Regions from separate parts of the Homo sapiens genome. Here all the other regions are linked to region 2. Evidence: promoter capture Hi-C in 16 types of primary human blood cells and fetal thymus (Javierre and others, 2016). All regions are on one chromosome and are shown on one strand. The core of a region is centred on a gene start or on the middle of the fragment in contact, and the rest is flanking DNA. Distances in the headings are between cores, read along the strand shown.

Evidence for each region. Contacts are between HindIII fragments. The CHiCAGO score rates a contact against its expected background, and 5 or more counts as called.
Region 1: a fragment that was not itself captured here is called in contact with the fragment with the promoter of GUCY1A1 in region 2 in 2 of 17 cell types (megakaryocytes and fetal thymus); the score reaches 6.2 in megakaryocytes.
Region 3: a fragment that was not itself captured here is called in contact with the fragment with the promoter of GUCY1A1 in region 2 in 1 of 17 cell types (fetal thymus); the score reaches 6.0 in fetal thymus.

The regions. Positions count from the first base shown.
Region 1 is chr4:155,522,087-155,525,873 of GRCh38, forward strand. It overlaps LOC105377504 (a long non-coding RNA gene), which reads right to left and starts at 518. Exons shown (of 2, transcript XR_939376.3): 1 at 1-518. The HindIII fragment of the contact is 1,917 bases long and covers 1,029-2,945 here.
Region 2 is chr4:155,665,330-155,669,086 of GRCh38, forward strand. GUCY1A1 (guanylate cyclase 1 soluble subunit alpha 1) reads left to right here and starts at 1,519. Exons shown (of 10, transcript NM_001130682.3): 1 at 1,519-1,636; 2 at 2,017-2,090. The HindIII fragment of the contact is 4,774 bases long and covers 1-3,479 here.
Region 3 is chr4:155,502,876-155,507,090 of GRCh38, forward strand. All of the region lies in intron 1 of LOC105377505 (a long non-coding RNA gene), which reads left to right. Among named protein-coding and RNA genes, the nearest start is that of MAP9, 130 kb to the left of the region's middle. The HindIII fragment of the contact is 950 bases long and covers 1,952-2,901 here.

The DNA of each region.
Region 1 (3,787 bases), core at 737-3,236, 140 kb before region 2:
TTCTCTTAGCTGCCTCTTCTTAGCATTCAGATTCCAATTCTCGCCTTCTCTAACCATTGTAGGTAAAGTGGTTACCGATCCTGCCTTCTCATTTTTCATCTTCTTTCTTCACATAAACCAGAGGCAGCTGGACACTTTAAAATGTTTTTTCCCAAGCTTTTATGGCCTGCTCCTCTGTTAGAATTTGTCTGTAAATGATAACACCAGCTTTTTTTCTTCCTCCTGTTTCTGGATTTGACGTGATTTTTAAATTCTTTCTTGGCTTTGTAAGTTAAGCTCCTGAGCTTAACTGTCTGGGTCTTGAAATTTGGACAACTTCCTTGAATTCTGAACTACATAGTTTTATAAACATTGCGTAGGTTTGTTTATTTTGTTGGTGTGAGCAATCAGTCTATACCACAGCTCTTTTAAGTAAGCACTAGGCCTCTTTCCACTTATCCCACTCTAAGCACCACCATGTAGCCCCACAATTAGGAAGCAAGATTTGACAAAGCCTTAGGTGTCCTCTAACAACCTTCTTACTAAATGCAAGAAATTTCTGTCACTTCCTGGTAAGTAGATATTCCGGCTTCTTCATGAATAACTCTGATAACATGGAGTCCACTATTTCACTAGACAGGTCATGTCAACTACATAAAACTCTAAGACTCCTTAGAGACTTCTTTCTTAAATTTATCTTAAAACGTTTCCTGGAAACCTCTACAGAATAGTTCAAATTTTACATTCTAGATGACACAAAATAATTCTTTACCATGTGCTAGCTACATGACCTGGTTAAGAATGGTCACAATCTAGGCATGGATTTGAGGAGCTATGGGATAAACCTAGCTATCAAAACCAAAAAACTATGGCAAGATCACTGACATCACAGTGTGGCAATCAAGTAATCTTGAAGCCATATGCTTCTTTCTTCACCATGCCTACTAATACCATTTATTTTCCACTGAGAATCCAGGAATAAATAACACCTCTACCTCTGAAAGGAGACAGTTTTCCAAGAATTGTTGAAGGGTAAAGGGGAAACATAAAGCTTTAAGTCTTTCTAAAGATAATTTGTGATATCCTCAAAACCTGCTCTCTTGTGCAAACAAATCCCAGTTCAATTTCTGTGTTTTCTAGGGAGCTTTACAGACTTGTGCCTCAGTTGTCTCTGATTAATGTTCCCCAACAAGTTCCCAAACAATTACTTTTTATTCTGGCTGAGTTCTCACAGTATAGCTCTTGAATATCTCTGCTTTGGAAAAATTGAACATCTGTAGCTCTCCTCCCTATTCCATTACCATGACATTTATTGAGTGCTAAAATGTACAAGATTATATTTGTCTCTGTGTTGTTAGGGCCCATACGCTGGTAGTCATTATACTTTTTCTTCTTTGAAGGTGTCCCTCCTTCACAGGGCTCACTGAAATACAGAACAGGTCTTGTCAGTTTGTGTGCATGACTATTTTTATCTCAGAGGGAGGGATTGTGGGATACAATTTATATACAAGAGATAAATTATAGACACACAGTGTCTGGTTACTCACTTAGCTTAAGCAGGTTTACATATGTTAAAGAGTATCTTCTAGGCTTGTTTTCCCTCTAACTCCAATCACTGATTCCTCGATTTCATTTTCTTGCTAGTTCACTGGGACATTTCACCTGGTAGGACAAGACTCAATTTTTCTTTTAGTACCCTTTAAGTCCTGGAACAAAGTTCTCTCAGGGGGCTTGAAATCCAGATTTCAGAGGGAAACTGCTTTCCATAGTCATCTAAACAGTTGGCAAGGATAGAGTCCTGTGATCTTTCCACTTACAATTTTACTACTAGTTTTCCCTTTGTTTAAGAAATAACAATCTGATTATCATTCTTTACCACCTACATCTAGATTCAGTCATCATATTCTGAAAATCCTCCATCTCCTATCTTATATCCATTCTTCTTTTTGCCTTTCTTAACTATGAAACAGTTAATTTCTTGGGACAGTAATTTTGCCTTGGTATTTTTGAATTCCTGTGCATAGAACAGAGAGAAAGTGAATGAATGCCCTGCTTGTTCTGCATCTGTACCTTCTAGCATTAGCATCTTCTTCCAAAATTACCTTAGGAATCCTTTAAGCCTCATCTCTGAGGAAACCATTTGCATTCATAGCATGCATATCTTTATTATTATTATTATTATTATTATTATTATTTTGAGACTGAGTCTCGATCTGTCGCCCAGGCTGGAGTGCAGTGGCATGATCTCAGCTCACTGCAACCTTTGCCTCCCAGGTTCAAGCGATTCTCCTGCCTCAGCCTCCCAAGTAGCTGGGATTACAGGCTTGCACCACTGTGCTCAGCTAATTTTTGTATTTTCAGTAGAGGCAGGGTTTCACCATGTTGACCAGTCTGGTCTCAAACTCCTGACCTCAGGTGATCTGCCTGCCTCGGCCTCCCAAAGGACTGGGATTACAGGTGTGAGCCACCATGCCTGGCTATATGCATGCATATCGATAGTCAATTGACTGTTGTTTTGTCTGGTTTTATGTGGTCCACTTACACCAAGACATCTCTATCTCAATTATGATGCAGATCATTTGGATCCAGCCTAACGGAATGTCCTCCCCTTCCTTCTCTTTCTCCTATATCAGCTATATATTTTAACATGCATACAATTCCAAAGTCAAAAACATTAAAACAAACTAGGAAAAAAAAAGTAAAGTAATGTTTCCCTTCAAGAGTCTAAAGAACTAGAACAGTTTCTAGGTAACCCACAGCAGATTAGCCCCAGGATATCTGAACAAAAATCTTTATATTACAGGAACTAAAAATCAGTGGTTGAGTTTATTATATATCAAAGGTCTGCATCTTGTCACTTGAGACAATTCACAAGGAGAATAGAAATTTGAAAGAATAAATCTGACTAAGCCAGAAGCATTTTCCACCAGGTGTCAACACGTTTCCCATCTGCTGGGAATGAGGAAAGCTTTGTATCTGCTCCATCTCTGTACTCTTCCCTTCTTCAGACACCAGGACAAAAACTTAACATTGTCGCTAAAGCAATTTTTATTTTGACAGCTTTAGCATTTCATCATAATGCCTTTGTTTCAATGGAAAAAGTTCTCCCACGCTCTTCACTGAAGATGACTTTCTTACTAAGTCAAAGCTTTTGCCTCTTCTTACATAACAAATGTGTACACAACCCACCTGCTTCTGGGTTACTTTCCATCTGTTCATCAAGACAAACCCTATTACATATGAAAACAACTTTTTTCCTTTTTATGGACATTATGTCTCCATGTAAATTAAATTTGTAATCAAGTTGGGTCTTCTTTTTAGACAACAAAAATATTTCAGGAACTTCATGACAATTGATTTATAGAATGTCCTGGTTAGCCAGGATATTTGTCTTATGTATAGTGAAATATTTTTTATAGACAACAGATAATTTCAATTTTAAAATAATCACTTGGACTGTAAATTCAGCGAAAAAGGCAGTCTCTTCCTTAATCGGAAGCCAAGTGGAGTTGCAAGTCATACTAACCTTAGGAAGTCAGAGCAACTGAGACATTGGAGATCATCTAGTGTGTTCCCAGCTTTGGACCTCTTTGAGAATTTGAAAAGGAAGCTATAAACCCTCCTCTGGGAAAGTATACATGCACTCAAAATGTTCATAATATATCAGGGTTCTTTTGTTCCTCTGGGCCAAAAACCATAACCCAGGTAAGGAACACTTGATTTAGTCCAACTCTTTCATTTTGATAACAAACGGAATCTCATAGAAGCCAACTGATTAACTTAAGATCCTAATTTAAGCCTACAAGTT
Region 2 (3,757 bases), core at 269-2,768:
TCGGTAGCTCCTGGCAGAATGTACTGGGGTCAAATGCAATACTAATCAAGGAGTTTGGTGTGCCATAAAACTTGAGAATGGTAAAAGTAGAAATTAATGGGTTAAACAAGTCATTTTCCAGAATGAAAGGAATATTGGTAATGGTATCAACAGACGAGGACAACAGCAACAACAAAGTCTTTATACAAGCCTGCAACACGTGACAACTGCGGATCAGGCATCTGAACCCGGCCTATCTTTCCACCGTATCTTCCTACACTTTTCTTTATGTACTTTTTATTTCTACCAGATGGTATTACTCCTTGTTTCTTGAATAACAGTGTCATGCCTTTCCAACCTCTGTATGTTTGCTCACAAGTTTCCCTCTGTCAGAGAAAAGCAAAAACAACAAAAAAGTCCTCTATTTTATCTTTTTCCAAACATAACCAATCCTTCAAGTCCTATCTCTAGTACTGTTCCTTTATGAACCCTGTCAGACAATATCTCATTTTCTTCTGAATGTTCATAGCATTTACTTAAAAATAGTATGACTTCCCTCTTCTTTTTACTAATGAATTACTGTGTATTTTTTAAGTTTCCTTCTACATCTGAAGTTCTAAATATTCTTAGTACAAATGTCCTACTGATCTAAGAGAGTATCATGGGTTAAATGTAGAGGAAGAGAAGTTTCTGAGATGGCAGGAAGGCAAAAGTTTCTGTGACTACCTGTGCTTATATTGCTGACTTTCTTAACTGTTCCTGACTTATTTAAATGTATTTTTTTCCTGATTCTGATTAATGTTCACTATGAGGCAAGCACAGTAGGCAAGACTGGGAGAAAGTTTGCAAATGTGATGAGCTTACAAATGGGACCAGATTAGATGGTGTACTTGGGGGAGATATAAAAGAGGAAGATAACCATGAATTGAACTGAATTGAAAATGGATCACATAAAGATCATGATTAATTGTTAATTCACAATGGAACAGCATGATGGGATTTTTTTAAGTCAGAAAGGTGACTAAAAGCATAATATCACAACACACACAACGGTAACAAATATAACTAAATGCACTGAACCAGGCAGAAGCCAGACCTTACTGAAAAGATGTAAAATCTCTGTAACCATAAAACTGCATCTGCAAATGAGTAGATTGGCTTCAAATCTGAAAACCAGGACAAGAGAGTCATCAGCGCAGATGTCAACTTCCCCAGCAGAAATGTTGGAGTTTTTAACTGTGGAAAACTACAGTTTTTCCACACCAGTGCATAGTGGAGAAGACATGTTTTTGTTTTTCTTTTTAAGTGTGCCAAATTTTCCTGGAGTCCCCTCCAATTTTTTTCTTTCTCTCTCTCTCTCTCTTTTTTTTTTTTTGTCCCCTGCCCCTAGGTCTCTGTCTCCACACAGTGATTTCTGTTATGGCGATTGGGCGGCTGCAGAGACCAGGACTCAGTTCCCCTGCCCTAGTCTGAGCCTAGTGGGTGGGACTCAGCTCAGAGTCAGTTTTCCAGAAGCAGGTTTCAGTGCAGAGTTTTCCTACACTTTTCCTGCGCTAGAGCAGCGAGCAGCCTGGAACAGACCCAGGCGGAGGACACCTGTGGGGGAGGGAGCGCCTGGAGGAGCTTAGAGACCCCAGCCGGGCGTGATCTCACCATGGTGCGTTTTGGCTGCTACTTTCTTTTTCAGTCTTTCGGTGCGGAGAAGGGGAGGAGGCGGGCAGAGGTCTGAAAAAATCGAATGCCTTATGGAAAGGAACTGCAAGGGTTCCTTTGGGGTGATCAAAGAGGGAGACACAGACACAGAGAGACAAAGGCAAGGAGGACTGTCTGGGAGCCACGCGGGCGATACAGTTTCCGAGGCACGCCGCGTCCCGCCTAGCCTGTTGAACAGGTAGACATGAGCGACCCAAGCGTAAGTGCCGCTGCCGCGAGTGCCCAGGGTGCACTCGCGCGGGGACCGACAGGTGCCACTGCAGGGTCCCCTCTCCCGCTCACTGCCTGCCACCCCTGACGCCTGCTCTCTTTCTCCATTCGCAGTGCGGATTTGCGAGGCGCGCCCTGGAGCTGCTAGAGATCCGGAAGCACAGCCCCGAGGTGTGCGAAGCCACCAAGTAAGTGGTCGCTGCATCCCCACGCGGGTCGGGGTTCTTCAGACAGGCGGTCCCTCTTCCGGGACCCCCGCTTGGGCTGGGTCTCCTTCCTCTCCTGAGAAACCTTCGGTACGCTCCCAGTTGCCCAGCCCTGGGAAGCCAGCATCGGGTTCCCACGCTGGGGAGGAGCGAGAGGAAAGGAGAGGACGCCCGAGGGGCCGGCCCAGGGCCCGGGGGACCCGCGGCGCCCGAGGGAGGAGCACAGACGGGGGTGGGCGCCGAGCAGCGCCGCGCCGGCTGCTGAGCTCGCGGGGCCGGGCCGTGAGAACGCGCGGGGCGCGCCGGGGCCGCTGGTCTCCCACGGCCAGGGCGCCTGGGCCCCAGAGCCCATCAGCCGCGTGCAGCGCTGCGGCCTCCGGCGCGCCGGCAGGCAAGCGAGCGGGCGCAGCTGGGGGATGCCTGGACCCCGGAGGCAGCAGGGCTGGAGGCGGTGGCGGGCTTCAGGGCAACTTCACCCGGCCGGCTGCGGCGTGGGTAAGAGGCGCGTCCTCCTCCACAGCAAAAGCTGCGATCGCTGGGCTGCCCAGAGAAGGCAGCCGGCTAACTGCCCAGCGGCTCCACGAGGTGTGCGCGTGTGTGCGAGAGAGACAAATGATTTACTGCTTAGCAGTCCCATTTCTGTTTTCGTTAGGACTGCGGCTCTTGGAGAAAGCGTGAGCAGGGGGCCACCGCGGTCTCCGCGCCTGTCTGCACCCTGTCGCCTGAGCTGCCTGACAGTGACAATGGTGTGAGGGGCTGCGTTGCAATGTGGTCATGTGATTTCAGGCTATGGATTTCGTGCGTCTTTCTCTGCTCACTGATTTTCACATGGTTATTCTTTCATTTTGCACTCGATAAACAGTTTACATCTTCTGAAGTAAGCCAGAAGATTGTATGGCTCACTTAACGATGACTGGTTGAAGGCATCTTGATTTGGAACCTATGGAAACAGTGCTGAGTTTTAAATAGGACAGATTTTTTTTTCTTTCATTTGAACTTCATTTATAACATATCAATAGTGATGTTTTAGGATCAGTTCTCCTATGGTAATTTCACTAAATGCCTATTTAATGAATTGATTTGATTTCATACATCTCTACCACTTACTAGAACTGTCTTTGTACAAACGTCAAACTTTCCTGTTACATATGGGTAAGCATAGAAGCACTTGATATAATTTTTTTTTATCTTGGTTCAGAGTGTAGAAGTGGTCTGTTGCTTTTCCTAAAATTGCTATACATATTTTTTCTTTAAGAGTGATCATTTCAGGTACCCTATTATGTACAGTGGTAAAAAGTAAACTCGTTATGATAGCAACGACGATGTAACCAAAATAAGCAACACTTAATTGGTCTGAAAGTTATACATATAAGCTTTATTATTGCTTCAGTGGAAGTTGTCTATGCATTCTGTGCTTTGTTCAGCCATTAAACAACTGGGTCCGTGATCTTCTTCAAGGGGCCGTGAAGTCCCTAAAATTGTATTTAAACATTAGAGTGGCTGCATTTTAAGGGAGATAGTACATAGTCAAATATCCAAAATGGACCTGTGTCCTAATAGAAAATTAAGAACCACGGGGTAAAAACACGTAAGCCATACTTTTTCTTATCAAAACAACAGGCTGTCTACATACAGCCTGCAGACATAGG
Region 3 (4,215 bases), core at 1,177-3,676, 160 kb before region 2:
CTAACAATTTAACTTTCCACCCCAATCACATAGATCAATATTGAATACTAATTTTCTCTAGGTAGATTGTTAAATCTCATTATTTTGAGATTTTCTACATTGCAAACAAGAATATTTGACTGGAATGTCAACTGAAATCATTTGAAAAACTATCATTTTTGTATTTCATTATCAGTTTTCACACTTCTCTCCTCCATTATGAAACGTTATGGATTAAGTTCTGTCTTCCCTCAAAACTCGTATGTTGACGTCCTAACCCCCAAAACTTCAGAATGAGACATTATTTGGAAATGAGGTTTTTGCACATGTAAATTATGGTGAGAATGAGGTCATACTGAAGTAGAATGGGCTCCTGACTGTTGTCCTTTTTAAGAAAGGAAATTTGGCTAGAAATTCACACAGGCTCAACATCATCTAAAGATGAAGGCAAAGAGAGGAGTGATGCTTTTACAAGCCAAGAAATGCCAGAGATTGCCAGCAAATCACCAACCAGAGGCTAAGGCATGGAACAAATTTTCCTACAGAAGGAACCAAACCTTCTGACACCTTGATCTCAGGCTTCTAGCCACCACAACTGTGAGACCATAAATTCCTGTTGTTGAAGCCACCCAGTTTGTGGTACTTTGTTATGGCAGCACTAGCCGACTAAAGCAGGAAGCAAAGAAGAAAAGATGATCTAAGTTGTTGCTCAACATTTGATTCCTAGTGCATATTAGTATTCGCATACTTAAACTAGAAAATATCAAGTACCATTTTAAACTTTTTCTAATATAATTTAGATGCATCTGCTTTATATTTGCACTTTAGTATCATCAATTTGGATTGTAGAATCCTAAATAGTTTCACAGAAACTACAGAACTGAGTCTTAAAATAAACGTTTTGGCTATTAAATCACAGATGGTCACCAGAAAGCTTACTGCAATTTTCTACCCTACCGCAAAAAATGAAATTGGTTGTTTTTTCCATGCTGTTATAATTGTGGAAGGGAAATGAGGTAACACGATTTATAAAAATGGTTTTTTATAGGTATTATTTTTTAAGTTGCCTTTAGTATTATTTTTTCTTTCCTTCAGAACATTTACTCTTTTTGTTGTTGTTGCTTGTATTGTTTTTAGATTTTAGTAGCATACTGTAAAGGTTTTGGAATGGCTTGTAGCATTTTAGTATATAATGGGGCACAAAACAGGTTGTCCTCCGTCTATTTAATTCAGGATCTTTTTTTGTTTTGTTTTGTTTTGTTTTTTTGAGTTGGAGTCTCGCTCTGTTGCCCAGGCTGGAGTGCAGTAGCTCGATCTCGGCTCACTGCAAGCTCCGTCTCCCGGGTTCACGCCATTCTCCTGCCTCAGCCTCCTGATTAGCTGGGACTACAGGCGCACACCACCATGCCCGGCTAATTTTCTGTATTTTTGTGGAGACGGGGTTTCACCGTGTTAGCCAGGATGGTCTCAATCTCCTGATCTCGTGATCCGCCCGCCTCGGCCTCCCAAAGTGCTGGGATTACAGGCGTGAGCCACCGTGCCCGGCCCACTCAGGATCATTTTTATCTATAAGGCTCACATGCGAAAAGGATATGTTTTAGGCAAATGCTTTATAATAAACAACTCTGAGAATTTTCTAGGACCTGAGCTTTCATGAACACTGATGGTGATAATTTGTGATGACTTGGCAGACACAGAGAGAGGAACATGTTCATAATAAGAAGATAAATAATTGAAGAAATGATTTTCCTTTTTTTTTTTGACATTTCCATAAAATCAAATCTGAGCTTTATTGTGGTAAGAACTGACATTGTGGGAAAAAAAAAAAAAAAAAGAGAGCTTTCCTGTCCCCATCGATATCTCTTTAAGATAGCAAAGGAGAACAATAACACAAATGACATCTCCAAATAATTTCTAAACTTCTTGGCATACATTTAATTTTCTTCACTTTCACTAATAAAGTTAATTTTTAAGCTTTCTTCCCTAGTTTATTTTCCAGAAGAGACTTTTCATGAACAATGTGAAAACCAAATTATAGTAGAACTAATATGCAAAATGCAACCTGAATTGATTCATTTCAAACGCAAATGTGTAGTTAAATATTTTCTCTTATTGATTCTCATTTAATTATGAAATATTGTTTTAATTTAATATTTTGTAGCCTAAAGACTTTAGAGTATATCATATTACTGATTTAACTGTTAGTTAGAAACACTATACTGCACTGTGCTTGAATTTAAGCAGTAGTACCTCATTTTAAGAGTTTTTTTATAATTGCTTTGCTAGAATAATTTTTCAATGGAAATATATCAGAGGAATATAAAAATTATTCTATGGATTGACTCATAATTAGACCTTTCGTGTATTTTAAGGTCAATACATAAAGTAAAACAGGAACCATTTTTAGAACATAAAAAAGGCTCAATAATCTATAGTCAAAAATGGCCTTTATAAAAGCATAGAATACTGACTTTTTATGTTTTAACTGCACCAATAACAGCAGCAGCATTATCAGGTCATAGGTCATGTTTTTAAACTTGCTGGCCACGTTTTAAACTTTGCCAGTTCTCAAAGAATGTAGTAGAACTTATGTTGAAATTATGTTGCACACACTACTTTATATTGGGTGTTAGCAAATCTCTTCATATGGTATTGCTCCTCCCATGATGTGAGCAGTTTGCATGAAGATTCATCTTTGCATGCTCCATCAAACTCAGCACACAGCCATCCATATGTTAGGCCCTCAGGAAGTACTCATAGAATAGAACGTTTCTCAGATGGAAAGAACTGTGAACAAATTCTTAAGAGATCAGAGTTTTCAGTCTGTTTCTCCCCCCGTGAATTTCCTGTCCTTGTTTTGTTCACAGTATCTCTTTAGTTTGTAACCCAAAAAATCTGAGACAGGTCTCAATCAGTTTGGAAAGCTTATTTTGCCAAGGTTAAGGATGTGCCGGTGACACAGCCTCAGGAGGTCCTGATGACATGTACCCAAGGTGGTTGGGTTCAGCTTGCTTTTGTACATTTTAGAGAGACATGAGACATCAATCAATATATGTAAGATGTACATTGGTTCCGTCATAGGAAGATAAAAGGCAATTCTTTTTGACAAGTCTTTTGCGTTCTCTTGAGTCTCTGATTAGCTTTTCACTGAATACACAATTTACATATGAGAGGAGGGTAGAGGAATAGTCATTTATGCCTTAGTCTGGCTTAGTGAATCTGCATTTTTAAGTAAACAATAAGGTAGAGGAAGCAATCAGATATGTATTTGTCTCAGGTGAGCGGAGGGATGACTTTCTGCCCTGCACCTGTGAAGATGAGCTATCAGTTTACATTGCCAGGGTGAAATTCAACAGAACTGGAATTTCACCCTGAAATTTCCTCAAGGTCTTTACCCTATTCCTTGTGTGCAAATTCCTTGTGGGCGAATTGTCAGGCAGGCATGTAGCTTTCTTAGCTATCTTTTTTAGGAATAAAATAGGAGGCAGGTTTTCCTGACGCAGTTCCAGCTTGACTTTTCCTTTTGGCTTAGAGATTTGGGGGTCCCGAGATTTATTTCCCGTTCACAGGTTCCATAGCTGAAAAAACAGAAGACTGAACTAAATAGTTTTAAGCTACTTTCAAGTCTGAAATGTGATTTCTGAGTAGTCCTCTTTTGTACTGCTTCTGGAAGTCTTTTTGTACAGACTGTTTCTTGCAAGCTTTCCTATTGCTTCAAATATGCATATCTTCAAACAGAGGAATGGATTCTGTGTATTTTTAAAAATATTTTATAATTGTCTGTATTTAGGCTCTCCTGTGGAGAGCTGGTACTAAAAGTATAAGCTTTTATTCTCAGCCTAGTATTTGTGTAATCTATAAGTATATATAAATGTTGGTTTCCTTGAAAAACTAATTTGTCAGTTCCTACTTTTTTTTTTAATTAATGAAAGTTTTCTCTAACTTGTTGCCAGGAGAATTTGGTATTTCAGATGTCAACTTTTCTGAAAGTAGTTTTGTTCCTTTATCATGGACTTCAGCAGTTGTTTTCAATACTCAAACTGACAGGGCGAAGGATAACAGTCTCAGCTGTGCTCCCACAGCTGGTAATTGAATGTTTCTAGCTGGCCTTGTGATGAGCAGGGCAGCCGATCTCTGCAGCCAAACGATGCTGAGAGCTGGAAACACAACCATCAGCTTCTCTACATGCTGATGAAGACAATGACGATGCATTCTAGGCTGGTGAAGATAGAGACT